7 separate regions of the Homo sapiens genome follow, and all the other regions are linked to region 3. The links are contacts of gene promoters, found by promoter capture Hi-C in blood cells and fetal thymus (Javierre and others, 2016). All regions are on one chromosome and are shown on one strand. Each heading gives the region's core, a stretch centred on a gene start or on the middle of the fragment in contact. The rest is flanking DNA. Distances are from core to core; before and after follow the strand shown.

Region 1 (3,786 bases), core at 1,003-3,502, 2.8 Mb before region 3:
AGGTCCAACTTTATTCTTTGTATGTGGTTATCCAGTTGTAGCAGCACCATTTGTGGAAGAAACTATTCTTTCCCCATAAAGTGAGATACAGATTCAATATAATTCCTGTAAATTCCAATGGCCTTTTTTGCTGAAATGGATAAACATCTCTTCAAATTAGGGACTCCAAATAGCCAAAACATTATTGAAATAGAAAATCAATGTAGAAAGACTTTCACTTCCTGATTTCAAATCTTACTGTAAAGCTACAGTAATCAAAACATTGTTATACTGACATAAGGATAGACATATAGGCTCAGGGAATAGAAATAGAAGTCCAGAAATAAACCCAAACACATATAATTTTAACAAAGTTTCCAAAATCATTCTATGTTTACTGAAACTTAAAAAATATTTAAGAGTTAGCTAAGCTAAGGGACAGAACGTAAGTCAGGGCAAAATGAGCAAAGTCATGAAATTTAGAGAACTAAAAACAAACAAACAAAAAGCCACATACATTTATTTTGCCTGAAGTGTACAGTATACAGCTTATGATAGAAGAGCTGTCGTTGAATGGAAAAAGAATGAAGTAAATATTTAGGAGATAGAACCAGAAGGAAACAACTTTTATATGGTGGTTCAGAACCACGCTTAGTCTGGAAAAGTGGGTCCTTCTTATAGGCCCACATCTGAGGGCATTCCTGGTGCATCAGGGTGCTTTCTTCAAAATGTTCTAAGCCCCCTCCAGTACCTAGGAGTGGCCAAGGGTGGCAGTACTATCCTGGACCAGATCCTTGCAGTATGATCTTTGACCCTTGCATTAGTCAGGGTTTTCTAGATAAAAAGAACTAATAGGATACATATAGATATGTAAGAGATTTATTATGGAAATGTGCTCATATGATTATAGAGGCAAAGAAGTTCCACAATATGCTCTCTGCAAGCTAGAAAGCCAGGAAAGCTGATGATATAATTCAGTCCAAGTCTGAAGGTCTGAAAATCAAGGGAGTTGATGGTATAACTTCTGGCTGGAAACTGAAGGATAAAGCCTGAGAATCAGGAAGCCATTGGTGTAAGTTTCAGAGTCCAAAGGCCCAAGAAGCAGCAACATTGAATCTGAAGGCAGGTTGTCTGAGGGCAGGAATCCTAGCTCAAGAAGACAAAATTCACCTTTCTACCACCTTTCTGTTCTATTTGGACACTCAAAAGATTGCATGATGCCTGTCAACATTGGTAAGGGTGGATCTTCTTTACTTAGTCTACTAATTCAAATGCTAATCTCTTAAGGAAGGACGCACCCTCATAGACCCACCCAGAAATAATGTTGTACTAGCTATCTGAACATCCTTTCGCCTAGTGAAGCTTACACATAAAATTAACCATCAGAACCCTCTACATTGGGTATGTCTTAAGGAGCTTAGTAATTGTAGTCTGGCCCCAGTTCCTCCTATCCAGAGTAGGATATATATAATTAAATATAATTAGATATAATTAAATTATATTTATTTGTTTTATTTGGATTATACAAGATTATGCAGCCAGAAAGTTACTGTCATACTGATTCCGTGTGACAGTCACTCATGGGCATGGCAAGTTCAGGGCTCTAGCCTACCATTGGTCCAATGCCAACACTTGGACTTGAACCAAGTATGTGAGAGTTATATATTGGCTCTTGTCCATCTTGGTGTCTGTTCCAATTATAGGGCTGTCTCTTTTGTTTACCACCAGAACATGGCAGGGGTAGCAGCAGTAGTTTTTACCTTGCGGCATCCACTGTTGCTCCTCTTGCTAGCAACCCCGCTGCTTACTCCAAACTCCTTCTATGTACAGCATGTCAGGCAGTTCTCCAGGGACAGTTGCATATATCTTCTCCAGGGGCTTTTAAGACTATAACTCCATAATCCTAATGGCCCTTCTGATAGTTGTTCTCTTTTGCCTCCAATTTATGTGGTGGCCTTATGTTCTCTTGGCATGATCTTCAGCCTTACAGTACATGGGATGGATCCTCCTTGTATGAACAAGACTGCTGCTCTCTCTCTACTGACGGCCCCTTACCTATCCACCCTACTCGTGGGTTGGAGTGGTAGGTATGATTTAGTGAATATTGAAAAATATCACACTCTAGGAATTTAGTGACTATGGCCTGAAGAATTTGAGACTCTTCCAATGCTACTGGAAGATGTGTTGTTCTACATTTACACTATACAAATTTCCTTTTGGTAAATTTAATATATCCATAAATCTAATTATTGCGCAAATTTCACTGTATATCGTGGGTAAAACTTACACTGGTGATCATAACCAACAAAACATATTAATAAACTGTGAGATAGCCATTGGAATAGAATGTTCATAGTTGTATGGCAGATGATTCCACATCATGAATAATGTAATAAGCATTAAATCAAGGGTATTAGGAAATTGCAGAGGCAAGACATTTATATTATTTCAATATAAACAAGATTCCAAAGAGCAATGTCATTGCTGGACCAAATAGGTCCAGGAATATGAAATATTTCCTCAATAATATGAAATCCTCATGCACTGATTGGGCAATAAACAAAGATGAAGTAGCTTTTCTCTATCTATTGTTATCAATAAATCACTATTTATCATATGTTCTATTAATTTTGTAATACATTTTTAAGTCAAACAGTTTACATGTATAGGAACTCATCCAGAAGAGAAAACCAATTGTCCTAGGTCTCTAACCTCCTAGGAATGTCCTACAGGAGACTGATAGGATTAACAGTTACATTTTGCTTTCTCTCTATGACAGCGGTTCTCAACATTTGGAATGAATAAAATTCACTGGGGCACAGGCTCACCAGGCTTCAGTTTTGCATAATATGAGATGTGAGTTTTCTGTGATACCTATAATTGGAGATATCTAGGTTGTCCTTGGATACATAAATGTGAAACAAAGATAACATCATGGTTTAGAAAGATATATTTCTAATCAAAGAGGTCATAAGAGGTCTGAAGCAAAGTCCTAGAACAATATATAAAACAGAATTACAGACTGATGTAATGGAACCTATAGTCTATGTATAATAAAGTCCGTGTATTTAGATGGTAAGCTAATCCTGGGAATATGATGGTTTTGGCGGTGATTGTCCAACTTTTTAGCTCATAGACTCATAGAGTGTTGAATGGAATTAAGACATTGTTTTATTCAAGCTTATTTGTTATCAATAAGAAATCTTGGCCCAAAGAGATGAAGTTATCTGATTGAGGTCACACAGTTTCTTGTAAAATCAAGACTAAGCTTGTTATTTCCAATCTATTACACAAAATCTAAATCAATTTTTGAATCATTGTTGAATTCAATATCAAGCAGAAATAACACAAGCAGTTTAAATTCAAAAAGCAAGTTTAGCTATAAGAGAAGTACTTAAGTAAGAGGGCAACACTAATCCACCTTCAAACTGCAAAAGTGGCTAGAGTGCAAGTAAATCCTTGAACTGTAATAATCATACAGCAGCAAGAGCAAAAGCAGATTAGCTAACCTTACTCTGAACTGAGAGGACCTCAGGACTTGATTTAAAGTTATATCTCATTCGTGTATGTCTGTGTTGTTCATGCATGTGTGTGTATGTGTTTGTGTCTGAAAATGGAGAGAACTGGGAGACTGAGGAGAATGCAGCGGAAGAGCAAATTTAGGAAATAAAAGCACATTAAAAGTGGGAAGGTCACTGTGTCTTTAAGACAGCACTTCATCTTGAAAATTAAGATTAACCTGGCGGGTATAAGGTGTTATTGTATTAATGAGAGGTTGCCTTTTTAGAGCCCTGTGGAATAACATTC
Region 2 (3,809 bases), core at 294-2,793, 2.5 Mb after region 3:
TGTGTAGTAGGCTGTACCTTCCAGGTTTGAAATGCAAAAGCACTCTATGATCACAAATGACAAAAGCACCTAAGATGGACTTCTCAGAACATACCGCCATCGTGAAGCGACACATGATTGTAGAACAGTTTACTGTCATAAAAGTTAGCTAAATATAGTATCTCTCAAACTACCTTATTGTATGTAATATTTTCAGACCTCAGAACCACGGGTAACTGAAACCACAGAAAGTGGAACTGTGGATACGTGTGCACTACTGTATGTAGGTATCTCTCAGCTCCCCTACAGTGTACTCTAAGGGTAGAGACTACCTAAACTTTGTATCCCTCGTTGTTGGCACATAACAGACACTCAACAAATGTATTTTGAACAATTCAATCTTTTTTTTTTGAGACAGGGTCTTGCTGGAGTGCAGTGGCCCGATCTTGGCTCACTGCAACCTCTGCCTCCCAGGTTCAAGCGATTCTCCTGCTTAGCTTACTGATTAGCTGGGATTACAGGCAGGCACCACCATACTCGGCCAATTTTTGTATTTTGATAGAGATGGGGTTTCACCATGTTGGCCAGGCTGGTCTGCAACTCCTGACCTCAAGCGATCTGCCCACCTTGGCCTCCCAAAGTGCTGGGATTACAGGCATGAGCCACCACACTCGCGCTAAACAATTCAACTTTTAAATTATTTAGTTTTGGCCAGAATTTTAAAATCTACAATTACTAAATATTGGGCTAGTAATTACTACACTTGAGTATAAATGCAGTTTAAACTGAATTGATATGCTACTGTGAGACAGAATCACTTTCTTCTCAACTTCAAGTAATAGAGAGGTTTGGAAGATGTTCAAATTCCCCTTCCAGCTGTTCTCAGCTTGGTGACATCCAAAGACCTCTAAGAACTAAAGAGAACCCATAAGGAGTAGCCAGTCCCTTGTGCCTCCTCCCCCCTTCATTCTCCATTCTTAAGTTCACCTGGTGAAGAAAGGCACTCTATTAGAGCTTCACTAATTTATTATTCTCAATCTATCCCCAAATTAGTTTCTGCTAAGACTGTTGAATGCCTCACTTTTTTCTACTTCAATAGATGCAAATCACTTTTTGAAATAATACTGTGCCTTACCAAAATACAAAAAAGCTTCATAAAAGTATGACATTTAAAATAGAAGACTCAGCAGGATACAGACAAAAAATAGTAGAAAATGGAAATAAAGACTATCCCGAATTTCAAAGTATACAAATCCAATGAGAACTGCAGTTTACACTGGAAAACAAAGATTTTTTTTTTAATGTTTACAACAGCTTTGAAGCCAAAGTAAGTCAAAACTGGCTACTATTTAGTATTTTACTCAACGACAATAAAACAAGAGTTCTAGTCTACTATAGCAACTAGTAGAAATAAGGTCGCCAGCTAGTAAAGATTAAATCAGTTGTAAATTATTTTGTGGTTGCCTCTAATTCTGGTAAGATTTTGGAAAAATATTTCAATGACAGTAACATATTTTTAAAAACAAGATAAGCTCTGAAAATAACCAACTATCCTTTTGTGACCTTTTTTTTTTTTTTGGTACAGAAACTACCACAGCAAGAAGCGGTAATGTAAAAGGATATACAAATCAATCAATCATTGATTGGCCAATGATATGCAAAGTAGCAAAAACAATGCCTCTATTTATCCTCGCCATTAATCTATTCAAACATATAAAGATTTTACTGGTAAAATTATACAACTGTGTTAGACGTAATGCAGTAGGTACCTTATACAAATCATTGAAAACTTACATTTAAAAGGAGTTCCTCATTGGGTCCACAAAACTAATCTCTTTTTACCTCCTGCCCAGTCAGCACTTGCTACTGCACAGGGATAAGAATCCACCCAGCTATCCGGATAAGGGAGATGTCCCTCTCAAATTAAGTATGCAAAAGCCTAAAAATATTTCATTAAGAGGTACTGAAAAAAGCTTAACTTCTAAAATTGAGACCCAATTCTTCTTTTATTGTGCATAGAAAGGTGAACCAATGTATTATCTTGTAAGTAAAGCTAATAAAGGCAGTCTTGAACACTCAATCGTTGTTCCTTGCAGTTACAGCCCTCTTTTAAACGCAGTTATATTCATTTGATAAATAAAAGGAAAAAAATTTCCTAGAGGTCTTATAAGCGTTAGAACCTGTGTTGCACTCGAGGAATGTATCTGATTTGTAATGGACACAACTCAAGTATTATTATTTAAAACATAAGCACAATTTTAAAAACACAAAGATTTAAAAACTTAACCTTTGATTACAATGTATTACATTTAAACAAATCCAGTCTTTAACTGAATAGCAAACATTTAAAGCCAACTGGTATTTTTCTGTTTTCTAATATTTAAACCAGAGGCACAAAGTCATTCCTGAAAAATAAAACAGTAAAGATCTCTTGAGTTTCCTTGTTTTTTAAAAAGCCTGAGCAACTAGTCACGAATATGATGGTTAATGGAGGTGGGAAAACCACATTAGCCAGTAATATTTCATTAAACTTCTCATAGGGACCTGGGAAATACAAAAAAATAAGGCTTTTAGGAACATTGCAGTTAAGCACAATTTAATTGTTTTAAATGTGTTACTACATAAAATGCAGTAGATACGAACAGCAGGTTCAAACCTTAAACGTCACTAGCAACAAACGACATCTTTTGCAAGGATGCCCATTAACAGACATCACAGCCCCGCGTTACCTCTAAGCAACGTCGTTCAGGAAAACCTTGCATTCTCACTTTCGCTCAACCTTTCAAAAGGTAACACGGGGCCCGGGGGTGGGGGTGGGGGGATTTAACACTTTGTTTTCGAAAATAGGGTCTTATCTATAACTCTTTATTTTTAAACCACATCATAAGGATTTGGGGTGAACGTTCTTTCATTTTAATCACTATGAGATCTGTGGGTGAGCTAACATCTTTTTGTTCCATCCAACCATCGCGCTTCCAATTCTTCCTTTTGGTCCCCGGCCACTCATCTTCACAGGTATTTTCATCACAAAGGCCAACAACGACTGGGCTTCAAAGCACTGCAAGCCCTGGATTAATGAGGCAGGACCAGCGCACCGACTTTTATCTGTGGCTCCAAAAGTCAAAGGACTTGTTGCAAATGAGCCCGCACCTCAGTCGCCTTCAGAAAGTGTGAGGGGAGGAGGAAGGCGCCACGCCGAAACCTGTCGCAAACCCGAGAAGGAGAGCCCCGGGGACTGGGCGCGCGGGATACAAAGGGCCGTGAACGCGGCCTTCCATGAGGCGACAGTGCGCGGGCAGGGAGACAAAATGGAGCGATGGGAGGAATCGGAGCCCGAGCGGCAGCGGCGGGGAAGGGGCGGCGGCGGCGGGCACGCGCCCCGCCAGGGCTTCCTCCTCCGACCAGCGACGGGGGAGGGGGCGCGGCGGCGGCCAGTTCTCTCCGCCGCTTACACGCGGCCCCACCGCCCGGGCCTAGCGCGGCGGGAAGCGCCAGCCGGGTGCCGCCAACAATAGGGAGCGAGGCAGCGCCGGCGAGGGAGGAGCCGGCGGCAGCTGCACAGCGGCCCGCGTCCGCGCTCCGGGCCCCGCGGCGACTCGCCGCGCCCGCGGCCCGTGAAACGACGCGGTAGAACGAGGGGCGGGGGGGCGCCACGCCAGGGGTCGGCGGCGCGGCCCAGAGGCGGCAAGGGCGCACACTCTGCAGTCGCTTCGGCTCGCGGCCGCAGCGGGCCCCGGGTCAGCTTCCCGGCCGCAGCGCCGCCCGCGTCGGCGGCGGGGACCTGGGCTCTCACGTACCTGGTTGAACTCTTCGCCGACATCCGCGTAAAT
Region 3 (3,646 bases), core at 124-2,623:
CCAGTATGACACAGCTAGTTAAATGGATGGAGGTGAGACATGAACCTGGACAATCAGGCTCAAAAGTCCACTAGACTTTACTGCCTTTGACCAAATTGGTAAGTCAAATTAGTAGGATAAATTTCTCCTAATAACATCAAAACTGATTTCTCTGGGAGAGGTGGGGTGAGTACAACTCCCTCAAAGGCCTGGCTTCACTCTCAATCAATGATAACATTTTAACACCTTTCCAATGTACCTGTGGAAGAAAGCCGACCTTTTATTTTACAGGTAAAGAAACTGAGTAACAGCAGCGGCTTTTAGTCTGGGGACCAATTGTTGGCCAGTATTCACTTGATGTTTCAGCGTGGGTCAATCGACCTCGCAGAATATGAGTGACCCGCAAGTCAGACCCACGCAGGCTGCAATGAAACTGCGTAACACGCCTAGGCAAGCGGTCATTTCAAAAAACCTCCAGAGATGGCTCTTTTGCCATTCCTGTTACTCAGGACAAAATGGAACTTGCATAAACACTTAGTCATCAGTAAGCGCTGAAGTTACAAATCACCTAATTCGCAAAATCAAATACGCAGCTAAGTTCCTAATTCTGAAAGAAAGAAAAGGAGCTAACATTTGGAGACTGCAACACTGACACCTGGGACCCAGGAACTGCAGTAAATGGGAAAAAACAGCCCACGGACGGAGACCACAACGTGCGCAGCCACCACGGGGAACACTGGGGACTTTTCAGGGCCCTTCCACTTCCCTCCCAACAGCCTGTCCTCGCGTCTACAGGCTGCCCCGACCTGGTGATTCCCCAGGGCGAATTCGGAAAGGTAAACCGAAGGCGGAGATGACAGGCCTGAGATTTGCCAGCCTACATCCAGGGGACCAGGGCGGCAAAGTTTCCCCAGCCCCGGAGGGGTAGGGGCCCTGAGGCGCCCCCTCCCGCTCCCCGAGGTCCGCACCTGCAGAGTGGTGATGTGCTTGTCGTTAAACTTGTTCTCGCAGTAGCGCAGCACCAGCGACGTCTTCCCCACGCAGCCTTCCCCCAGCAGCACCACCTTGAACGAGTAGGCTCGGCCCGCCGCCGCCGCCCCGCCGCCGCCGCCGCCGGCCGCAGCCATCCCGTCGCTTCCCGGCCGCCCGAGCCCGAGTGTCGCGCCGCCCTCCCGACAGCCGCGGCAGCGCCTTCACAGCCACGGCCGGCTCAGCCCCCACCGCCCCGGCCCCGCCGACCCGGGCGCTGTCCCCACGCCCTCCTCGGGCGAGGCCTGGAAGGGCTGAGGGAAAGTCCGAGAATGAAGGGCCCCAGCCCACCACGTCAGGCACCGGAGGAAAAGCGAAGAACGATCCCTCTCTGCCTCCCTCTAATGGCGTCTCCTTCCTCCTACGTCACACCTCGGGTCACGTGAGCGCCGGTGCCGGGGCGGCCCCTGCGACTAGCCCCAGAAGAACGTGCCTGGACGTGGGCGGGGCTTCTGGGGCATCTCCCGGGGTGGAGCTGGATGTGAGTCGAGCGCCTACTGGCAATCTAGGGCAGAGCCCCGCCGCTTGCGAGCCACCTCTGCTTTTCAGTTGGTGGGAGCCAGCGGGAATAAGGAACCAGGAATTTGAGGCGAGCCCAGCTCTGGTGAAATGAAGGGCAGAACTTCATCGTTTTTGCATGTTCACAATGCTAATGATCTGTCACACCAGAGGTCACTGTAAACCATATCTGCCAAGGTGCCCTTGAATCTCTCTCTGTGGGATCCCGAATCATAGCGCTTCCAAGTTCCTCTGACCGCCTGGTCAACTACTCCATCATCTTTCAAGTCTCAGCTTAAACCGCGTCCCTGACCACCCAATCCTTCCCCCATCCTTCCATTCCCCCACCTCACAAAATTAGGTATTTCTTACCACCAGTATACCTCCTTTACTAGGGCTTTACACACTCCATGGATATTATTAATACTTTGCTAAGTGTTTATCGACTCTCATTAGACTATAGGTTTGTTGAGGGCAAGGTCTGTATAAGAGCTGCCCACCTTTGAATTCCTAACCCCAAGTGCTCTTCAGTTTTTCTGACTTTCATGAAGCCTCTGACGTTCCATGGTACTCCACCTTGAGGTGGCTTGTTCGATGATTGCTTGTTTTTTCTCATCTGCATCCCCATTCTTTTTTGTTTGTTTGTATTGTTAGTTTTGAGATGGAGTATCGCTCTGTCGCCCAGACTGGAGTGCAGTGGCGTGATCTCAGCTCACTGCAGTCTCTGCCTCCTGGTTCAAGTGATTCTCCTGCCTCAGCCTCCCGAGAAGCTGGGACCATAGGCGCCCACCACCGCGCCCCGCTACTTTTTGTATTTTTAGTGGAGACAGGGTTTCACCATGTTGGCCAGGCTGGTCTTGAACTCTGACCTCAAGTGATCCACCTGCCTCGGCCTCCCAAAGTGCTGGGATTATAGGTGTGAGCCACCACGCCCGGCCTGCCTCCAAGAAACCATACTCCTCCAAGAAATCATACTAATATTTCTGAAAATTTACTGGAAACCTGGTGTCAGGTAAACATTTTTTTAAAAATCAAACTTCTTTCACACTTCAAACCAGGTTAAAAAAAAAAAAAGAGGCCGGGCGTGGTGGCTCATGCCTGTAATCCCAGCACTTTGGGAGGCCGAGGCGGGCGGATCACAAGGTCAGGAGATCGAGACCATCCTGGCCAACATGGTGAAACCCCATCTCTACTAAAATACAAAAAATTAGCTGGGCATGGTGGCACAAGCCTATAATCCCAGCTACTCGGGAGACTGAGGCAGGGGAAGCGCTTGAACCCGGGAGGCAGAGGTGGCAGTGAGCCGAGATCGCGCCACTGCACTCTAGCCTGGCGACAGAGGAAGACTCCGTCTCAAAAAAAAAAAAAAAAAAAAAGAGAGTCGGTTAATTCATTCAACAAATATTTAAATGTGCCCACCATATGCCAGGCACTGTGATCAACAAGATAAAATGTCTCTGTCCTCACAGAGCTTACATTTTATCAGGGAAGACAGACATACTCAATTGTACAATAAATGCTTTCATCTTGATGAAACAGTTCAGAGTATCTTGCAAGCATATATGAGAACCCAACTGATTTAGCATGCTAGAGAAGCTTTCCCTGGAGAAAGTTATCTTTGGGTAAGAGTAACCTAGTCAGGAAGGACAGGAGAGCTCTGCAAACAGAGATAACAGCATGTTCAATGGCTTTAGATAGGAAGGAGCATCTAAAGTTGAGCAACTGTAAATGTGACTAGAATTTAGGGAGGAAAAAAAAACTCCAGAAGAGACCATGAGGAAGTTGGGGATCAATACTGAAAGGGTCTTTAAGCAAATGAAGGATTTTCGTAAGATGACTGACATAATCAGATTTGACCACTCTGGCTATCATTTGAAAAGTGAATTGGAGAAGGATAATATTTTAGATTTGTTTAGAACCAACCATTAAAGAGACTCTATGTTTTATAAAATATCCTCATGATTGTATCTAAAGATATATTTTCCAACTCTCTCCTCCACATTCCTCCCCTTAGGGTCTTTGCACATTTATAGACACTTCCAGAACTAGAAAAGAACTTCATTTTGAGAGAGCACCTTCCATTGTTCTTTCTGAGCACTTCCTCATATTGGATTGAAATCTGCCTCTCTTCACCTGCAAT
Region 4 (3,650 bases), core at 1,064-3,563, 2.0 Mb after region 3:
ATGAAAAAAAGGGATTAGAGAGAAAATTATGTAAATGGAAAGAAACAAAAGAAATCCAATATGTATATAATCTAACAAAAGAATCTAGAAGTTGGAACAGGAAAAAAAAAAAGCAGATAAATATTTTGAGACACTTTCCAGAAATAAAAGACCTAAATCTATAGATTGAAAGAGCATATCATATCCCAAATTAAAAAATGTCAAGAATAATCAAAGCAAGACCTAGTCTAGCATAGCTACTGGATTTCAAAGATAATGAAAGGATCTTTCATGCATCCAGAGCAAAATGATCAAGACATCTATAAGGGGGAAAAAATTAAAATGTAATTCTAAAGGTTTCATACCCAAGGATTTCATACCAGAGAAACTTATTCAAATAAAAATATAATGAACACTTTTGAACATGCAAGCAATATGGTTTTAATATTGCCCTTTTTTATAGGATATTCATAGAGAATGAATTTCAACCACCAAAGAGACGAATTTAGAAATATGGGCAGTGAGAGGAGACTGGTAGCAATCATTAAATCCATTATCTATAGAAGTAAGTCTAAAATAACGTTGAGAATTATGGTCATAGAACAGAGAGTAACCGTTGTAAGTCTTGACAATATCACAATGAAACAACCAACAAAAGCTGAAAGAGAAAAGAAATAAGGTAAACATAACAAAAATAATATAATTAGAGGGTAAAGAGGTGAGGAACAGGAAATACACTGTTCAATGCTTTCAATAATATATAAAAAGTAGTTTCAAAGTTATTAAGATGACCACTGGAACAAAAATGCAAACCTTTCAAGTTCAAAACACATGCATACACAAAGAATATATATACAGGCCATATAGTGAAAAATAAATGAGCACTACAAACAAAACCTAACAAAAAAACAAAAGATAGGTAAAGTAAGATAAAAGATGACATGACCTTCTTTTCAATGAGCACTGAAAATTTTCAATTAATTTTCTCAACTGGGATATCAGGGCAAATCTCAACCTTGTGCTATATACATAAGATACAGTGAAAACAAAATGATTTAGAAAGGTGGAAAATAAAAAGATAGGTGAAGGCATACCAAGCAAATTAAAACCAAGATCAAGATTTTATCTCCAAGTTAAATTCAAGAAAAAAGTATTAAATAAGACAAAGATAGGCACTTTATAAAACATGAGATGCAAAATTAAGATTTCATGCTTATGAATATCAATGTACCAAATAACATAAAATTGAAATTTATAAAGGAAAACTACATCAAATTCAAAGAGAAATCCACAGAAAACATGACTAGTTAATTTATCTCATCCAGAACAGATCAAGTTGTCAAAAATTAAGTAGGATATAGAAGGCCTAAATAACATAATTAGCAAGGTAGATTGTATATGTACATTTATATATTTATAAGTTTATATAAATATGTGAGCGAGAATAATACATTTTCTTTTCATGTACCATAGACTAGTCACAAACATTGATTAAGTATCTAAAGGTGCTTCAGATAGGCCTAAAAATTTTGTCTCTAATGGACAAGGGAAATGCTCCTTTATTCTCAGCCCCCTTTATTATTTTTTATTTTTTAAATTCAGCTCTTTTTTTTAAATTTAAATGAGCACAAATGAAGAAAAAGAGTGAAATAAGATTGTACACACTCATTTCCAATTTTAACAATTATCAATGAAGTACCAATCTGCTTCATCTATATCTCCAACAACTTCTTGCCATCCTGCATTATTTTATATTTAGTTTCTTTATTAACTTTATTAAGGTATAATTTACATACCATAAAATTCACTCATTATAAGTATATGAATCAATAATTGTTAGCAAATGTTTAGAGTTGTGCAACCACACTACATTCCAGTTTAAGAACATTTCCATTATCCCCAAAAGATCCTTCATGTCCATTTGCAATAATTTTACTCTTAACCCAGTTCTAGGCAACCACTGATCTGTTTTCTGTCTATATATTTGTCTTTTCTCTCAACTCCTTTTAACTACAGCTAGCTTCTCTTTTGTTTCATTTGCATATTGAACTTCCAGCTTGGAAAAAAAAAAGTTTGAAAACCATTATGACACACACTTACTTAAGAAACAATGTAAAAATATTTTTTATTTTAAATTTAAGATGTACATCCCATGTGCAAAATATATGGAATGGAATGCTCCAAAGCAGCAGTATCCAGTATGTGATCTAACTGATCCTGGTTAGGTAGAACACAGAAGCTTTGCAAAGACTATCTCAAAAAGGAATTTGAGAAGTTTGGTCTAAACATGGATGTTTATTGTATGTGGGGTATCTACAGTGAAAGAGGAGAGAAATGCTTTAATACTAATTTAAGCGTTAAAGTGGTCTGATGCTCCTTGCATCATTCATCGGGTGTGTTTTTCATTTGAGCTTTGCAAGAAAGCTTTTCCTGGTCTAAGAATAGAAATTATCATGGTTGTCAACATTCTTCATGCCTGTACTCCTAACCGTCATCAGTTTGGGCAAAGACAAAACAGCGTATGCAGTCTGGGTTTATTTGAATGCAGTCAGAAGTGTAGGTTATGGGTACTTGTTAAAGAGATGTTTTGAGGTCAAGAACTTTGGGGAATTAAAGAGCTCTCACTGGCCCAACTTATTCAACATTCAGGGGCCCAAGAGATTGTGCTTTCTTGTTCTGATGAAACATCTGAATATACTGAACTTGAAATCACAGGGGAAAGGAAGGGCTTTTGTTTCAGAAAGTAAAAATCTCAGGCATAAACCAGGCATATGAGTTGAGCTCAGGTCAACCGCCTTGAGCTTAATGGAATTACAGATTTTGAGGAGTTGCTGTACTATTTTGGTAGAAATAAAGTCCGAATTTTAGAAGACATATTCTGATGAACATGAATCATACTTTAAGTTTCTGCAGCTGCTTTTGGTGTGCAAACCCCAAGATGTGTTTGAATTACCAAGTGTCTCCCCTATCTGTGCAGCTTGATTGCAAGAGGAATTTAATTTCACAGACCTGAAAGGGAAACATGCTATCAAAAAAGACAAAATTTAATTAGAATTTGAGTAGTGGTATATGAATCACAAAATTATCCTAAATTTTATTCTTCCATGAAACTACTGAAATCCAGACTGATAGCAATCATACTATCAGAAACAAAAATTTGGAGTAGAAATTCAGCTATATGCTACCTGAATACAGTCTAGACGGTTCAAGAATTGTTTAGTCACATGTATAACTGGATTATCATTGACATAATCAAAATTAATTAACAAGTTTCTGAATCAGGTAAGTAAGTATCTTTCAGGACCAAAAATACTCTGACATCATCCCTGTGTGAAATTATTCTTGCCAGACAAGCAGGCACTTTTGGCCACAAGAAATGGGCATCTGTCCCCAATTCAATGCTAGCAATGCCAACTTAGGGCCCAGATGATTCAGGTAATTGTAGAACCTGACCTTGAGGCAAAGAGTTGGAAACAGTGTTAGAAATACCTGAATATTGCTTAGCCTGATATTTTATAAGAAGTAAATGAACAGCACATACTCCTAATTGGTCTGTCTCTTGGGGTCCTGAAATTTCCAGCGTATTGCAATTATGAGGCTTTTTTTTTTTTTTTTTTTTTTTTTTGAGATGGAGTCTCGCTCTGTCACCCAGGCTGGAGTGCAGTAGTGCA
Region 5 (3,822 bases), core at 321-2,820, 2.3 Mb after region 3:
AAAAGCTCACTGAACTTGTCACTTCAGTCTATTTTTCCTGATTCATGATACCACCTCCCCTTTCAGGGGTGGGAGGAAAGAGAATGACATAAGTACCCAAAAAACTACAGAATAAACCCTAATCTACACACAAGATGAGAGTTGCAGATAGCGTCACTGGTTTCAAGAAGGTGATTTGTGAATACTTTACGCTGCAAAAACAGTGGCCATCTGCTAATAGCAATAATCTGCAGTAACTGCATTCCCTTATAAAAAGTTTTTAAATCACCATTTATTGTGGAAAACCCATATTTCCTACAAACCTTTCAGCAGTAAAGTTTACTACCTAAAATCTGTTCACTAAACCTACCTACATCACTTTCTCCCCTAGGAAATCCTCAGTTTATCCGAAGTAAACACTTCATGGAATAAGTTTAAACAAAACATCTCTGCCCACCTGTGTGAAACTCTGCATTGCAGCAACAATTTTAACAGTGTAAGGAATCTCTCAAGAAAATCCAAGAACAATTTTTCCTTAAGAAAAATGACAGTTCCAAATATGAAGGTAAACAAACTTTGGGAGAAAGGATATAACTGTCCAACTCTTTAAAATCAATTCGTACAGCCTCTGAATGAACTCATCATACAACTGTGACATCAGATAGCCAAAAGAATTAAGAGTGTAGATTAGAGAAAAGCATCTTTTTTTTTTTAGTATGTCTGCAAAAAAAGGCGGGGGAGGGGGTGTCTAAACTACTGATTTTCCTTAAGCAAGTTTTTTCTTTAAGTTTACTTCAACAACAGCTTCAGCAAGCTTTCAAGTGAGTAAAGATGATACAGAGCATGCTGGTGCCACAGCGACCTACGTATCCAGGACCGGTTCCGAGCCCAGTCCAAATCGATCCCGGACAACCCTGAAGCAAATCTGGATGAAAAGCCCTGCAAAAGATCCCTGGCATGTACAGGCAGCGCCCCACCCTGGAGGGAAAAGACGACACCCCTGGGACCCGGGTTAATTACTGACCCCAGGACAGACCCAGAGGAGGCGAAAAGTCGGGAACTGGAGCCCAAGATTGAGTCTGGTGTCCAGCTACTACCCCAGGCCGGACACAGAATACCAAACTAGGGAGCGGCGAGGTTTGGGGCAGCACACATGAGGGGGGTCGGACGGACGAACAGAGGCCCAGCCCATCCCCACTCTCGAGTCCCAACAGCAACAACAGCTCTGGGAACCCCCTCCCTGGCTCCGCCCCGCCCACCCCATGGACCCACAGCCAGCTCTTCCCGTCCCGCTGGCCCGGAGAAGTCCGCGGCGGTCGACAATCCCCTTCCCCGGACGCCGGCAGCCGAGCCCTCAGCCCGGATCCCGAAGCGGGCAGCGGGGGCACGAGAACGCCAGCTCCGACGCGGGCCCGCGGCCGTCCCAGTCCGTTTCCCTAGCCACTCACCGTCCGCCCAGGTGCTGAGAGGGAGCAGGGCGCGGGTCGGCGGGCGCGAACCCCCAGACTCCGACCCGCGCTGGAGCCCCTACTTGGAGCAGATCGAGTCTCAGCCGCTGTGCCTACAAGGCCTCTCTCCGGCCCGAATCTTGGAAAAGCACTTCCGGGGGAGCGGGGGAGGGAAGGGTTTTGGCACCGGAACTGCTCTCAGCCCGGAGCTGCCAGGGCCTCCAGGGCGGGGCGGGGCCTCTCTCGCCGGGCGCCCACAGATCAGCCTCTGGGCTCCTAACTAACCCTTTCCGCCCCGCGCCTCCTCGATTCCCCGGCTACTGCTGCACCCTTTGCTTTAACTGCTGTTTGAGTTGTTTTACTCCAGCCAGCTAATTTTACAAATAAGGAAACCGAGGCTCGGAGAATTAGGTGCAAGAATCCAGTGCCTACACCCGGCCTCCCGACTCCCTTCAGTGTACTCTACGCTCCAATCTGCCTCCTTTAAAAAATAATGATAATAGTTAACATTTATTGAACGCTTACTACGTGGTAGGCACTGTATTAAGTCCCTTCGGGTGCATTAACTTATTTAATCATCCCCAAACTCCTTGGGGTTGGTGCTATTATCTACGTCTTGCAGGGGAGAAAAACGGTCAAAGATACCAAACCCAATCTCACAAATGTTGGTTGATTTTAATTCACGTGTGTATAAATCTCATCTACCTATACCAAGATTTTGAAATTATTTAAAAACAGGGCTCAAACTATATTCCTATATTCTGTCATCACTGGTGACTTCAACAGAGGCGAGAGCTGGGGTTGGGGGGTTGGGGGGGTTGGGGTGGGGATCTGGAATCTTTTTGCTTGTCTCCTTTTATTTACTTTTATTTTTTCACCCTGGCAAGTTATAAAATCATCTCTGCATTGTAGGAATCCAAAATGATAATGCATGATAAACATTTCAGAATGTCTGGCATTGGATAAAAGTTAACGATTCTTATACCTCATCAGCAATAGGCAATAGAAAAGATTAGTTAAGGAAATAAGAAAGAGTAGGGGTTGGCCGGGCGCGGTGGCTCACGCCTGTAATCCCAGCACTTTGGGAGGCCGAGGCGGGTGGATCATGAGGTCAGGAGATCGAGACCATCCTGGCTAACAAGGTGAAACCCCGTCTCTACTAAAAATACAAAAAATTAGCCGGGCGCGGTGGCGGGCGCCTGTAGTCCCAGCTACTCGGGAGGCTGAGGCAGGAGAATGGCGTGAACCCGGGAAGCGGAGCTTGCAGTGAGCCGAGATTGCGCCACTGCAGTCCGCAGTCCGGCCTGGGCGACAGAGCGAGACTCCGTCTCAAAAAAAAAAAAAAAAAAAAAAAGAAAGAGTAGGGGTTTTTACAACTGGAAAAATACAGGTGCTTGTGAAGCTCCATGCAGTGATAATATGAGGACCCACAGAGTTACATACCAGACAGGGAAAAGGGATGGAAAGGAGGAGGGCGTGGGATTCCTCAGCCACAAAATCAGAAAGGCACCAGATATCTGAGGCAGATTCTGTATCTGGGATGCAGGGAAAGAAAAAAAAGCCTCTTAGCAATGCATACTATCTGCAAAACAAATGTACTAACATCTCTTGAAACTGGGGGGGGGGGGGGTGGCGGGGAAGATTTTTAAATGTTTCTACTATGAAAGGCAGGGGAAAGGAAAAAAGTTGAAAACCCATTATTACAAATTTAAGATGCAAACAATGCCACTGCTCTTGGCTTTATTTACAGGGCTTTCTTACTTTATTTTTGTGATCGCAGAAGTGTTGGCAAATACTTCCGTAATACTCAAATTCAAGCAGCCTTTTGTGCCTCAGAGTGTGAAGAAGTAAAAAACAGCGTGGGTTGGCAGGACTCACCGACATCTCTTTTTACTCAAGGCCTAAAGGGATAGTGAGAGGAATCCTGAATCACAGATATTATCAGGCTCTGTGTGGGATGCAGAGGTGCTAGAGGTTAGTCATTTAATCTGGTCATCTAACTGGTAAATGGAGCCGCCTGGGTTTGAATTTGCAGACCATATTCTCAGATGCTTTTCACCACTATCCCAGTGGTTCTCAAATTTGAGAGTGCATCAGAACCACCTAAAGGGCTTGTTAAAACAGATTGCTGGGCCCCACCCCTAGAAGTCCCTGGACTAAGCCTCTCAACATCATCTGTGAACTTGTTACAGATGCACATTACTGGGTCCCGCCCCAGATCTTATGAATCAGAAGCTCTGGGGTGGGACCCAGCAATCTGTGTTTTAACAGGCCCTCCAGGAGATTCTGATATACTGTCAAGTTTAAGAACCACTGCATAAGATATTAAGAACTAATATCTTGTCTTCCACATATTCCTCTTTTTTTCTAATTTTTTCCAACAGGGATAACTCTT
Region 6 (3,734 bases), core at 1,137-3,636, 2.4 Mb after region 3:
AAAAAAAAAAAAAAAAAAAAAAAAAAAAAGGCATAGAAGAAGCAACTATGGCAAAATGTTAACAACTTTTAAAGTGCATAATGGGCATATGGCTGTTTATTATACTAATGTCTCTAATTTTCTATACATTTAGAACATTTCATAAAAAAAAAAGTAAAACAATTGAAAAAGGACCATACAACTAAATTATCCCAAAACCTCCCCAAAGTAAGCAGGAGCAATGGCATTGTTCTGGACAAAGCATCAGTAAGGCCATTGACAGTAAATTAATAGGTCATTCCAGAAACTTCTGTATATTAAAAAACATCAACCTTTTATGATACCACTTCTTTAATTTCTTACTCAGGGAATTATGAGGAAAATAATAATGACTTTCTGGAAGTTGAGATGTAGTTTTTCTAGGTCCCTCATGAACCTTTCAAGGCTTTTTCATTTGTATTGAGTCTCAATTCTTGTAAGTATAACCAGATTGGTCAAATATTAGCTTGTCTTACCACTGCAGGATAAATGACAGGCATTAACTGCTCCTGGGGTTTTGCCATCATTACACCAGTAGCGGCTATTGATCTGAAATATCCCATAATCAGTGCTTCTGTCTCCAGCATTGTAGTTTGTAGCTCGTGTGTTGTAACCACTCTCCCATTTGGCCAAACACATCCCTGAAAAGAACTTATTTTTAGTAATAAACAGCAACACTAAGTGACTTATACTCTATAGCAAAATCAGTTCTACTTAGCTACTTCTATTTTACTGATTTGTTTTATAAGTATAAAGATTTACTTATAAAATATCTTAGCACTTTAGTGTTAAGATAAGGGACTTGTAAGAGAATCCTTTTGTAATGCAAATCATCTTGTAACACCAACGAACAATATAACATACTTTTAAAATATTAAAATACATGTTTGTTCCATTGCTTTTACCCTTCCCGTGCTCCCATCCCTCAGGCAACATTCAGCCAAGAACAGAAAAATCAACAGAGCTGTTGAGTAGATTTTGTAAATTCATAGCAGATACATAGGCTGATGGAAAAATGCTTTTTTTAATCAGAAAAACATAAGGATTTTCTGATAGAAATTTTCTTATAATATCTAAAGGTGAATTTGGATATCAAGTTAGAATCTTGAAAACAAGACTATTCCGTGATTTCATCCCTTCACTCATTCATTCAAAAATAGCTATTGAGGGGAAATGTCTGAATTCAATCTGAAAACTACAGAGATTATTACATCGACAACTATGTACTAAACTATAAAATAACTTTTCCTCATGGCACATCTTGAATTGTGTGGGAGAAAATGAAAGATAGTTAATCAAGTAGAGTAGATAAAAATAATAAAACATTTCATGCTGAGTTTCTGGGATCCTATACAAAGAGTGACTGAAGGGAACTAGGTTCCTACTGCTCTTGTGTAGGGAATTCAATATATTCTTTAAAAACATCACTGTTAAAAATCCCATGTCGGCTGGGTGCAGTGGTTCACACCTGTAATCCTACCACTTTGGGAGGCTGAGGTGGGCAGATCATTTGAGGCCAGGAGTTCAAGACCAGCTTGGCCAACATGGTGAAACCCCATCTGTACTGAAAATACAAAAAATTAGCTGGGTGTGGTGGTACACACCTGTAGTCACAGCTACTCAGAAGGCTGAAGCACGAGAATCACTTGAGCCCAGAAGGCAGAGGTTGCAGTGAGCTGAGATCATGCCACTGCACTCCAGCCTGGGCCACACAGTGAGACTGTCTTTAAAAATAAAATAAAATAAAATAAAAATAAAAATAAAAATCCCACATCACGGCAGGGGACTTGAAGACAAGAAAAATACTGCATCACTCTAGGCTCTCAGAGCCCAAGTTCAAAATGGGAAATAACTGGAGTCACATACCAAGGACTTGAGAGAGCTCTGCCAGGTCCTCAAATGTATCTTTCAGTCAGCTTACATGTGCCATTGAATCTCAGGCACCCAGCAAACTTCCTAGCACTAGAACAGTACAACAGGTCCTGTTTTACTTAGAATGGAATTTTCCCCTGCCATGCCCGTATTCCTTTATCGGGTATCTCTGGTTATAAAGAACCAAACTGATGTTTTTAGCCATTGTAAGTATACAAACCCACAAAGAAATAAAACATCTATTCACTCAAAGCCCCTTCTTCTTCTTCCTTCTCTCCTAGTGTCTGTTCCATACGTAGCTAATTCTCTGGAATTATGGAGAGTAGACTTACAGTTTGCTAGGCTGATTCCCCTGTAGCCATCCATTCCCAATCTTTTCAGAGTTCTGGCCAACTCACACCTTTCAAAGACCTTGCCCTGGACCGTAACAGAAAGGAGGACAAGCCCCAGAACAATGAGAGCCTTCATGTTGACTGCTAGGTCAGAGTGCTAGGCTGACCAGGGTGAGCTGGCCCCAGTATTTAACATCTTTTAACTTCCTTCTTCCCCTTGTGGTTTGGGGGCTCCACCCTTTCAGTTGTGTGGAAAACAGGAACTGTCTATTGATCCACTGACTCTAAAGAGATTTTTTTAATGCTTGAAGAGAGATATGCTGATGTCCTAAGAATTAGTCTACAGGAAAATAATGAAATGGAATTGTTTAAAGTACTGGCTCTGGAAGAATTGGGGCATAGCACTACTTCCAAGACAGGAACTTTCTTCTGTTTGATTATGAATTTGAGCAATTATAAAGAAAAAAATGACTATTTTGTGCAGCTTAAAATGAGCTGTGATTTTTGAGTAACATTCAATTTTGTGAAATTGTTTTGTATGCATTCACTTTTTTATATTTATCTTTTTTACTTAAAATTATTTTACATATCTTTTCCACAAAATGGACATGACACATGTGCCTGTTGTCTTAATGGGTGTATAGTGTGACACCACGTTGCTCAGCTAGTTTCTTACTCTAGACTCTTTTTGTTACTATAGCAAATTTTTTATTATTATAAATCAGTGTTTTACTATTATAAATAAGGTTCATGTGAACAACTTTACCAACTACCTTTTTTTTTTTTTTTTTGAGATGGAGTCTTACTCTGTCACCAGGCTGGAGTGCAGTGGCGCAATCTCAGTTCATTGCAACCTCTGCCTCCCGGGTTCAAGCAATTCTCCTGCCTCAGCCTCCCAGGTAGCTGGGACTACAGGCATGTACCACCATGCCCAGCTAATTTTTGTATTTTTAGTAGAGACAGGGTTTCACCATGTGGCCAGGATGGTCTGGATCTCTTGACCTCGTGATCCGCCCGCCTCGGCCTTCCAAAGTGCTGGGATTACAGGTGTGAGCCACCACATCCGGCCTACTTTACCAACTACTTTTCACAATACTTTGCCTCCCCTTTCCATATTAGAACATAAGGGGTCATTAGAAAGCAACAGCATTTTAAAAATAAAACCTACCCAAACATATATCCAACTAAATGCTACCTTTGAAAATAGCAATCTCAGGAGGCTGTGCACAGCTTTTAAAACAATGCTACCAGAACTCAAAAAGAACTGCACTTCTGTATCTGCCTAAGAGGACAGATTCTGAGCCACACAAAGTGTCATCACTTTGTAGTTACCCTTATTTTTCATCAGTGGCCTCTAAAGATTACCAGATTTGGTTTTAAATGACAGTTCAAGGACCCTGTTCAAAAATCAAGAATAATCTCATTTTTCAGGCTAGGCCTAATTTTGATTCTTCAATAATAAATAGGGCCAGGTGCAGTGGCTCATGCCTGTAATCCCAGCACTTTGGGAGG
Region 7 (3,821 bases), core at 918-3,417, 2.2 Mb after region 3:
GAAATAACTGGCGAAGTGGCAAACAACCACCAGAACAGAGTTATGGGACTTGTCAACATTCCTCAGGAACAGTTAGAATACCTGGGGAAGGAAACCAAATAAAGGACCAGGAGTCCACAGTCACATTAAGTTGGGTCCACCCAGACACCTACTGTTTGGGTAGTAGGGAGAAGGTTAGAAGACTTGATATTTCTCCTGTTGCAGACCGTGATAGTTTGTACACAGGAATCAGTCTGTGGAGCACACTTAGAGGAGCACTTTAAAAAAAAAAAAAACAGGGTCTCATTATGTTGCCCAGGCTGGACCACAGTGGCAGGATCACAGTTCATTGCAGCCTCAACCTCCCAGGCTTAATCTATCCTCCTGCCTCAGTCTCTTGAGTAGCTGGGACTACAAGCACACACCACCACGCCAGTTGATTTTTGTATTTTTTCATAGAAACAGGTTTTCACCATGTTGCCCAGGCTGGTCTCAAACTTCTGGGCTGAAGTGATCCACCCTCCACAGCCTCCCAAAGTGCTGGGATTACGGGCATGAGCCACCATGCCCAGCCCCCAAATATATCTTAAATCTCAATGAACTGACACCATCAACCATCTCAGTCACCCAAACCAGATAACTGGGGGTCATCCTTGACCCCTCCATTTCTGTCATTCCCCTTATCAATCAGAGGTGTTAATTCTTCCTCCTTTAGGCCCTCTATTACATTGGTGGCCCTGAATAAACTACACTTTTGATGTTCATGCTTTTATATGAGCCACTGTAATTCAACAAAATACAACAGAATTGACATTGTGCCAGTTCTGGGCTTAGGCCTCAAGAAAGCCTAGCAGCATCTACTTTTGTGCTCTTGGGAACCCTAAGCTGCCATGTAAGAAGACCACATGAAGAAAGACCCAAGACTTCATGGAAGAAAACTAAGGAACACAGCTGAGAGCTTTAAGTTCCAGACATAACCTAGTGGAACTGGTCCAGCCAGCCCTCAGCTGCTTGAATCATACTAGCATAGGCACAAAGCATATGAGGAAGCCAGGCCTCCAGACATCATGTGAGATGAGCCATCTCTGCTGTGCCCTGCCCATCTCGATCTATAGCAACTTGAGACATTAAATGATTGCTGCTTTAAGCCACTAACTTTTAGGGTGGTTTGTTGCACAGCAGTAAACAATCTAAACAGTCCTTTAACAATGCCTTTGAATACGGATTTATCAGATCTGGCTCCATTTCTGAAAAAGCCTCTCAACCAGTCTCCCTGCTTTATTAAAATACCGTAGGGCCAGCTACTTGGGAGGCAGAGCCAGGAGAATGGCATGAACCTGGGAGGGGGAGCTTGCAGTGAGCCGAGATGGCGCCACTGCACTCCATCCAGCCTGGGCAACAGGGAGAGACTCCGTCTCAAAAAAAAAAAAAAAAAAAAAAAAAAAAATACTGCGCCCTTCACGTATCCATGTTGTCAGAGAAATCTTTCTAAACTATTATTTTTCTGGTGTTTAAAATCCTTCAAGTTCTCTCACCTAATTTAAACAAAAGCTCCTTAGGATTCTGTGATCTGTTTCTCATTTCTCCTTTCTTCTGTATCCCCCAACCCTGCCTTTGCTCTCCATGCGCTTAGTCATTTGGAACCTCTTGCAACCACTGAATGTCATGATCTTTCTATACCTCTGTGCCTTTGCACATGCTATCCCTTCTCCCTAAGACATCCTCTCTAAGCTACAAAGACTTTCAACAAACCACCTCAGGGATCACCCCCTCTAAGAAGCTTTGCTTGAAAACCTCCACCCCTAGGCTGAGTTGGATGCCCTTCCTTTGTGTGTGTCTTTATCATGCCAGTTACATCAATCACTTGTGGACATGTCCATCTCCTTCATTGTTTAAATAATTTCCATCTTGACCTGTACTCAACTAAGGCTTTGCAATGTCACTCAGTGGCTAAAAACAGGTTTGAAGTCCCAGAGCTGAGAACTACTATTTGGAATGATCACACAGCTAAAACTGTGAGAAAGCCTGTCATATAGTTACAATTTCATTTTGATATCTTCATTTTGAAAATGGAGGCAGTGATATGAGACTAGGAAAGAAAATGTCACAAAGTTTCAAGTAGTATGTGAAATATAAATACAATAAAACTTTTAAGTAGATATCCGACCAAACGTTTTATTGGGGTTTTATTGCAATCTACTTTCAGCAATAAGGGGAAAGTGAGCATGAAAAGAACTCCAATCAGACTTTATTCAATAAAGCAGCTTTTCATGAATGCTTCAGGTCAGTGTATGATCAGCTCAGCTTCCAGTATCAACTTGAGTACCTCATTATGGATATTTATGCTAGAATGACAACAGTAAGGCATTGCAAAATCCAAAGTCATCTAATATTAAACCATATTTTACATAATTTGTAGGACAGTATACTAATACTCTACAATAAATAAGGATTTAAAAATGTGTTGCTTAGCCCTTGAACTAAATTCAATTACTAGCTTATTCTAAGTACTCCAGTTAATAAACGTTTGATTGTAAAGAACTCTGACTTCTCCAAAGATAAAAAAAATTAGTTGTCATGACAAAAATTAAGCTTAAAAAGCACATTCACACTTGTCCTTAAAAGCAAGTTTACATCATATATGAGAAAACTTTTCATGCCTGATGACATGGCTTATATGGCAAAAAACAGTCATATGCAAAGGACAACTAGAGGGCAATCGTCCCATCCCCACTTCCTCCAAAAAGCCACACTCGGCCTCAGTGTAAAAGTTATATTTTATTGCCATGCTACAAAATGTATGAAGTTGGCACTGATAGGGAGAAATAGAGAACAAAGGGTGGGAAGGGATAGAGGGAAAATTATGTTGTTACATATACAACAAGGTTTTATTTTAATTAACAGTGGTTACGTTTTGCCAATATTAAAAATGCAAACCAAAATTTAAAATGCTGATCTGAAACAGCATTAAGATACAATGTATGCATAGTACAGTATCACTTATGTCTTTTTATTAGAGAAATATGGAATGTTTATAAAAGAAATTAACCATGGGGGTAAAATTCATATTTCATATACAATTTGGCAATGGTAGTCCCACTGTTGGACAATTTTTTATAAAAGAAAAAATTAAAAATCTAATAAGCTACCTTTATACAAAGTTGCTATATTTATGCCTTTACGTAGGAAAAAAACATTTATAATGCAAATTAGGACATACAATAGTCTTACAATATTATACAATGTAATGAAAATAAAACATAACACAAAGTTTGTCCTTTATAAAATGTATATTTTGCATTACTAATGCAAATGTGGCACACTGGTGACTACTGTACTACTTATACCAGTCTGTTTCCATGCTATAACTGTCCAATTGCCATAGAACTGCAATTATAATGATGCTACAAAAGAACTGTGTTATACCAAAAATGAGGAAGTAGGGATGGGGAACAGGGATGTAAAGAACAGGAAAGATAGATAGGGTGCTGGTTTGGGCAGAGTATACTGTGGTACGTCATAAAATATGTTAATTTTTCAAGCCAAAAACATTTTCTTTACATTCTGTAATTTCGTACCAATGCCTTTATTCAAATTTGGCAAACATCAAGGAAAAGGTAATTAGTACCATATACCTCACACATCAGAAATATGAATGAGATGCCAATACATCAGTTACTTGTGAATGATGTCTCTGATGGTATGTCTATTTCAAGAATATATGTATTTATACACACACACTACACATTGCACAAAACATTTGGGCATTATAGGTTAGGAATAGCACGGGGGAATTGGGAAGTACTTTTTCATCTGTTAAAACCTTTACCTTGAGGCAAAAA

What was found. Contacts are between HindIII fragments. The CHiCAGO score rates a contact against its expected background, and 5 or more counts as called.
Region 1: a contact is called between a fragment that was not itself captured here and the fragment with the promoter of RAB21 in region 3, in 1 of 17 cell types (total CD8 T cells). The highest score is 5.2, in total CD8 T cells.
Region 2: a contact is called between a fragment that was not itself captured here and the fragment with the promoter of RAB21 in region 3, in 1 of 17 cell types (total CD4 T cells). The highest score is 5.4, in total CD4 T cells.
Region 4: a fragment that was not itself captured here is called in contact with the fragment with the promoter of RAB21 in region 3 in 1 of 17 cell types (total CD4 T cells); the score reaches 5.1 in total CD4 T cells.
Region 5: a contact is called between the fragment with the promoter of FRS2 here and the fragment with the promoter of RAB21 in region 3, in 4 of 17 cell types (non-activated CD4 T cells, total CD8 T cells, activated CD4 T cells and 1 more). The highest score is 6.6, in non-activated CD4 T cells.
Region 6: a contact is called between the fragment with the promoter of LYZ here and the fragment with the promoter of RAB21 in region 3, in 2 of 17 cell types (neutrophils and monocytes). The highest score is 9.9, in neutrophils.
Region 7: a fragment that was not itself captured here is called in contact with the fragment with the promoter of RAB21 in region 3 in 1 of 17 cell types (non-activated CD4 T cells); the score reaches 7.7 in non-activated CD4 T cells.

What each region holds. Positions count from the first base shown.
Region 1 is chr12:74,549,350-74,553,135 of GRCh38, reverse strand. No RefSeq gene overlaps it. Among named protein-coding and RNA genes, the nearest start is that of ATXN7L3B, 13 kb to the right of the region's middle. The HindIII fragment of the contact is 1,818 bases long and covers 1,344-3,161 here.
Region 2 is chr12:69,239,674-69,243,482 of GRCh38, reverse strand. CPSF6 (cleavage and polyadenylation specific factor 6) reads right to left here. Exons shown (of 10, transcript NM_007007.3): 1 at 3,777-3,809. Among named protein-coding and RNA genes, the nearest start is that of CPSF6, 2.0 kb to the right of the region's middle. RefSeq lists enhancers at 2,598-3,177, 3,178-3,758 and silencers at 3,222-3,441, 3,592-3,809. The HindIII fragment of the contact is 823 bases long and covers 1,132-1,954 here.
Region 3 is chr12:71,752,590-71,756,235 of GRCh38, reverse strand. It overlaps RAB21 (RAB21, member RAS oncogene family), which reads right to left and starts at 1,373. Exons shown (of 7, transcript NM_014999.4): 1 at 948-1,373. The coding sequence starts at 1,106. RefSeq lists enhancers at 482-671, 1,312-1,601 and a silencer at 1,052-1,331. The HindIII fragment of the contact is 5,965 bases long and covers 1-3,104 here.
Region 4 is chr12:69,725,940-69,729,589 of GRCh38, reverse strand. The region is part of intron 2 of LOC101928002 (a long non-coding RNA gene); the gene reads left to right. Among named protein-coding and RNA genes, the nearest start is that of RAB3IP, 11 kb to the left of the region's middle. The HindIII fragment of the contact is 185 bases long and covers 2,221-2,405 here.
Region 5 is chr12:69,468,136-69,471,957 of GRCh38, reverse strand. It overlaps FRS2 (fibroblast growth factor receptor substrate 2), which reads right to left and starts at 1,570. Exons shown (of 9, transcript NM_001278356.2): 1 at 1,428-1,570. RefSeq lists enhancers at 1,177-1,226, 1,398-1,899. The HindIII fragment of the contact is 4,260 bases long and covers 796-3,822 here.
Region 6 is chr12:69,347,033-69,350,766 of GRCh38, reverse strand. LYZ (lysozyme) reads right to left here and starts at 2,386. Exons shown (of 4, transcript NM_000239.3): 1 at 2,223-2,386; 2 at 495-659. The coding sequence starts at 2,358. The HindIII fragment of the contact is 11,988 bases long and covers 1-3,734 here.
Region 7 is chr12:69,578,100-69,581,920 of GRCh38, reverse strand. FRS2 (fibroblast growth factor receptor substrate 2) reads right to left here. Exons shown (of 9, transcript NM_001278356.2): 9 at 2,128-3,821. Among named protein-coding and RNA genes, the nearest start is that of MIR3913-2, 4.7 kb to the left of the region's middle. The HindIII fragment of the contact is 812 bases long and covers 1,762-2,573 here.